Linked DNA regions of Homo sapiens: region 1 is linked to region 2. Evidence: promoter capture Hi-C in 16 types of primary human blood cells and fetal thymus (Javierre and others, 2016). All regions are on one chromosome and are shown on one strand. The core of a region is centred on a gene start or on the middle of the fragment in contact, and the rest is flanking DNA. Distances in the headings are between cores, read along the strand shown.

Region 1 (2,720 bases), core at 212-2,711, 580 kb before region 2:
TTCTATAGATTATGAATATTTATAAAAAGGCACAATAATTTATGGAGCACTTAATATTTGTCAAGTAGCGTGCCAAGCCCTTCGAATGAATTATCTCCTTCAGTGCCCCAGCAGGCAGTGAAGTTACCACCTCTGTTTTACAGATGAGGGATTGGGGCTAAGGACAGTTAGATAACTCGTCCGGGGTCAAATAGCTATTAGTTGGCAGAGCCAGGATCCAAACCCAGGCAGTCTCACTTCAGAGCCTGTTCTTGGAACCACGTGCCTTTCTAAACTATAAACTGCTCTGTAACTTGCTTTTTTCTTTTTCCTCACATTGCTAGATTGTGAGCACCTTTTTATGTTGATACATATATATCTACAGCACCTTGTTTAATAATCAAACAGTATTCCATTTGTATGAGGCATCACAGTTCATTTAACCAATTCCCTGTGTTGAACACTGAGGCTGTTCCTAGATTTTTGCTTTTTATAGGTAATACCTCCCTACGTAATACCTTCATGCCTCCATATTCACCTGTATGTTCAGTGATTTCATTTATTTAAATTTGCTGGAATCAGGGTGGCTGAGTTTGTGAGTATGCCTATTTTTGAGGTTTTTGATATGTTTTGCCCTCCAGAATGGCTCTGTTTAAACATGTGAAATACTTACAGCAGCGCCTGGCACATAGTAAATCCTCTATAAATGTTAGTCATTAGTGTCCCTCTTGAGCACCCCCCAGCCCTGGGTATTATCACTGTTTTCTTTTCTTTCTTTCTTTCTTTTTTTTTTTTTTTCTTTGAGACAGAGTCTCACTGTTGCCAGGCTGGAGTGCAGTGGTGCGATCTTCACTCACTGCAGCCTCCCCCTTCTGGGTTCAAGCGATCCTCCTCCCTCAGCCTCCCAAGTAGCTGGGATTACAGGTGCCCGCCACCACACCCAGCTAATTTTTTATATTTTTAGTAGAGACAGGGTTTCACCATGTTGGCCAGGCTGGTCTCGATCTCTACCTTGTGATCTGCCCGCCTCGGCCTCCCAAAGTGCTGGGATTACAGGCGTGAGCCACTGCACCCGGCCCCTTTATTTTATAATAGTTCAAGGTTACCAGTAGATTTGGGAAGCAGGGTGAGGGAGAATGGCAGTCAGGGTTCAGTCAGGAAGCAGAGCACTCTGAGCATTATGGAATTGGGAATTTATTGACTCAGTCGTGAGAGTAGGTGGCCACATAAAGGGAGAGTCAAAGGGTGAGGGACCAATCACTCACTAGCCCTCCTGAAGCCCTGGTGCAGCCAGACAAGACGGTCTGTGCAGCTGCTGGCCGGCTCTGCAGAGGGGCTTCTGTGGGCATCGAGTGCAGGGTGTTGCATCTGTGCCTGGTGGGGGCCGGCACAAGCTGGCTGTGGCACGGGGAAAGCGAGGATGGACTGGGTTTTGCCTTTGCTGCTGCTTCCCACCTCTTACCATTACGCCTTCGCAGCACAGAGCCTGCTGCCTAAACATCTACCTCCTGGTTCTCCTGCAGAATTCTCCTGTGGTCAGTCCTGTCCTGGAGCCACATGGGGAAGGGAGTCTGGGAGACTGGCTCCAACCCAATCATCACACGACAGTCCACCACCCTTGTGTTGGAGTAAGCCCTCTGTGCCCATGGTGTTCACTCATTTTGTGTTTCCTCAGGTGGCAGCATAGACAATGTCTTGTCCCAAATCGCTGCCCAGAGGAAAAAAGCAGCCGGATTATTGGAGCAGAAACCCAGCCATCGGTCAAGCCCTGTGGGGCCAGCACCGGGGTCCAGCCCGTCTGAGCTTCCAGCCTCCCCTGCAGGTGGCAGCGCTCCTGTTGGCAAGGTGCTTGTTTTGTGTGGCCTCCTCCTGTTACACTCACAGATTCTGTTCTAACATGGGCCACTTGCCGGGAAGCATGGGCAGTGCCTTAGTCATGGGACAGGACTAAAGACAGGCCCCTTCCAGCCAGCCACTCCTGGGCTGCATGAGAAGGGCTGAAATGGTCCTCCGCACCAGGCGTTTACCTCCCCTCACATCTCCAGGTTTGAGGGGCACTGGGCTGCTGCACAGTGGCAGGGTACACACCCACTTCCTGCAGTCCCACAGGTCACCCAGCCTCACACTGCACACATTTGTTCATTGATGAGGATGAATGGTTTAAGAGCATGAGTTGAGGAGCAACCTGCCTGGGTTCAGCTCTCAGCCCCACACCTCAGCATTTAGAACAGGGCCTGGCACAGGATAAGCTCATGTCCGTGTTGGCTGTTCCTGTTGACAGCGTTCTTAGTGGTCTTTGTTGTCCTTCAACCTTATTCATCCACTGTATACATCCTGGGAGCATCTGCTCTGTGCCTGGCACAGCTAACAGTAAGGATCCAACTGTGAACTGGGAAATTTGGCAACCGCTCTAAGGACACAGGCAGTCACAGCTCAGTGTGATAGGGGTTGTTGTGGAGCAGGAAGGATGCTGTAGGGGCACAGGTGGGGGGCCCTACCCAGGTTTGAGGGCATCAGGGCCATCTGGATGGGGATCTGAAGGATGAGAATGGAGCCAGGTAAAAGGGGTGTGGGTGGGCCAGGGGTGTTGGTGCAACTGTTCTGGTGTGAGGGAACAACTTGTGTAGCACTCCAGAGGTGACAGCGTGGCCTAAGGGAGGAGCTGAAGGAAGGACATGAGCAGGACAGAGCCGGGACCTTGTCTCCCTGCTTCTGGGCACTGTGCTTCCATTAATGCAGCC
Region 2 (2,794 bases), core at 128-2,627:
GCCCAGCCATCCATATGCTTGATACCCAACTCTTGCACGCTAACACCAGAAGCATGCGTTCAGTCTACCTGCTGGGCAATCCAGCTCCAGAAGGTCTGAATCAGAGCTGTAGGATGGGGTTTTCAGGACCATAGTGCACACTGGGCTTTGGGTGGTAGGCAGGGAGCCCGTCCAGCTCTGGGCAGGGGGGTGGTACAGTGGACTATGGAAGCTGAGTCACATTCTAAGGAGAGAATCAAGAGCTCCCTAAGTACCTTGCCACTCCAAGCCTCAGTTTTCTTATCTGTAAAATGGAGGTAATAATAGTGGCTAAATAAAGCCACTATTATTAGAAGCTTAGAAGAAACGATACAGATATGTAAAGTAGTAACAGTGTACTCTGTTATCCACTCCACAACTATATATTGAGTGGTTACTATGTGCCACGGAGCAGTTCAAGGCCCTCAAGATAACCCGTCTCTACTGAACAAAACCAAGAGCTCTTCACAGACGTGGTGTGGAGTGGAGTGGCTGTTAGCTTAGTAGCCGTGGGAGCCATACTGCCTGGGGTTGCATGACTAGCCGGGTGATCTTAACCTAGGTACTTAATATCTCTGTGCCTCAGCTCTTTTGTGTTAAATAGGTGAGTAATGGTATCAACCTCATAGGCCTGTGTGACAGTGAAGCGAGGTAATGCACAGAAGGCGCTTAGAGGAGTGCGTGGCTCAGTAGTGTTAGGTGGGGGTGGTACCCAAAGGTAGGGCCTCCCCATTGTCTAGTGTCCTCAGGGCTCTCCAGCCAGCGAGGCTGGCAGCAGCGCCCCCGGCTGGTCCCGAGAGAAGGAAGGGCGTCCTCCTCGGTTCCCAGCGGCGCTCCCGGCTCCTCTCCTCCCTGCGGACGGGGAAGCCTCGGTAACCGCTGTAACTGCTCGGGGAAAGGAGCGCTTCCCTGGCCGGGCTCGGCGCGCGCACTGTACCCGGCCGGGATCGTCACATCCAGGGCTCAAACAGCCTTAAGAGGCCGACGCGGTTACTGTCTCCATTTCACAACGGGGGAAACTGAGGCTCCGGGAGGTCAGGTTCCTCATCCCACACCACGCAGCGAGGGCACGGCGCGACGTGGGGCCCGCGGCTCTGCCTGTCCCCAGCCTCCGCCTGGTGGCCGGCAGCCCGCCCCAATCACTGCGGCGTGTGCGCGCCTGTTCCCAGCACGTGTGCGCGCCCCGAGACCCGCCCCGGGGAGCCAGGAGCGCGGTCGGGGTCGTGGGGGCGGAAAAGGGTGGCCAGGGCGGACCCGCGGGGCGGGCAAAAGGGCGGACCTTGGGCCAGGCCCCCGCCCCGCCCTCCGGCCCCGCCCGCCGGGCTGCAGGGGGAGGCGGCGGCGGCTCTGGGCGCCGGGAGTCGGCGGGCGGCGAGGAGCGCGGAGCCGGAGCTGGACGCCGCCGCCGCCACCGCCACCTGCGCGGCAGTCATCAAGGTAGGGCGGCCCTGCGCCGCCGGCCGTGCCTTCCCGGTCTGCGCGATGGGGGCGTCGGGCGGGACGTGCGCGCTGCGGCTGCAGCTCCCGGAGAGGGAGGGATGCGGGGCTCGGAGCGCGGGGGACCTGGCTTTCAGCCCCTTTGCGTGACCTTGCACAAAGCACTGCTCCTCTCCAGGCCTCAGTTTCCCCGTCAGGATAGCTTGCTCATTGGTGGCCCCCTTCTCGCGGGGTTGTTGGGAGGGGCCGCCTCGAGGTCCGGGCTCCCGACGGCTCGCTGCCCTCATGAGCACTGTCTGCACCGCCCACCCCTCCTGCCCGCGGTGAGGGAAGCTCACTCTGGGCGCGGCCAGCCGGTCCCGACAGGCCCCTGCTGTGGCCCGGGTGCTCCATGGGACTCTTGTCGGGACCCTCCCCCTCTTGGCTGCGTTACCTGCTGGGCCTCAGCTTCCTGGTACAGGAAACGGTGGGGTGGGGGGCATCCCCGGGTCCCCGCCAAGCCGGCCTGGGCGTGCATGTGGGGCATCAGCCGGCCCGCCAAGAGGGTTTACTCGTCTGGGGCTGGAGGAGCCCTAGGTTGGAGGTGGCTGGACTCCTGGCGGCACGACTGCCTGGACCAGCCCCACGTAGGCACCTCGATTTAGAGAGTGGTATAGGATAGCTCCTTCCCCTTCCCCACCCGGGCCAGGTGCTGGTGCCTAGCTCTGTGTCCCAGAGCTAGTGTGTGATAAGGTGTGACACACACTAGCTGGTGTGACAAGGGGTGACTGGCGGCCACGCCTGGACCTCAGAGGGGTGACAGTGCCAAGGTGCTGTGTCCGCGTGGCATTAAGGGATGGGGCAGAGCACAGGTCTGAGGGACTGTGGTCCCAGGCTCCCTAGGTAAAGAAGACCTATGGCATCTGGCCCAGCCCCTCTGTAAGATCCCCTCTGGAAGGTCTTGCTGCCCCCTTGCACACTCCTTGTGATAGGAATCTCACTAGTTGTAAACCAAGCTGGAATCTGCTACCCAGTCACTGCCTCTCCTGCTGGTCCTGCTCTGGACACACAAACAACCTCTGACCCTTCCTCCCTCACCCTGGGGCAGTGGTCAGGTCCCTTAAATATGCTCATCTCCAGACCCAGCAGCCCCAGGCCCAGCAGTTTCTCCCATCAGATCCCAGGGAGCCAAGGCAAGAAGAGGGAGCCGAGGTGTCTGCCCTGGAGCAGGCTGTGGGGCCTCCGCTTTCCTGGGGCTTGTTCAGAACCCACCTGTGCATCAGGACTGGAATGTGTCTCCCCAGCTTCCTGCCCCTCCTGGGGACCGTCTGAGAGGTCCGGAGTGAGGAGAGCCGGAGCC

Evidence for each region. The method cuts DNA at HindIII sites, captures the fragments that hold promoters and counts their contacts. A CHiCAGO score of 5 or more calls a contact.
Region 1: a contact is called between a fragment that was not itself captured here and the fragment with the promoter of CORO2A in region 2, in 1 of 17 cell types (endothelial precursors). The highest score is 5.1, in endothelial precursors.

The regions. Positions count from the first base shown.
Region 1 is chr9:98,767,185-98,769,904 of GRCh38, reverse strand. ANKS6 (ankyrin repeat and sterile alpha motif domain containing 6) reads left to right here. Exons shown (of 15, transcript NM_173551.5): 11 at 1,655-1,824. Among named protein-coding and RNA genes, the nearest start is that of ANKS6, 28 kb to the left of the region's middle. The HindIII fragment of the contact is 3,112 bases long and covers 1-2,720 here.
Region 2 is chr9:98,191,220-98,194,013 of GRCh38, reverse strand. CORO2A (coronin 2A) reads left to right here and starts at 1,377. Exons shown (of 12, transcript NM_052820.4): 1 at 1,377-1,455. RefSeq lists silencers at 1,048-1,597, 1,668-1,717 and an enhancer at 1,870-2,524. The HindIII fragment of the contact is 3,890 bases long and covers 338-2,794 here.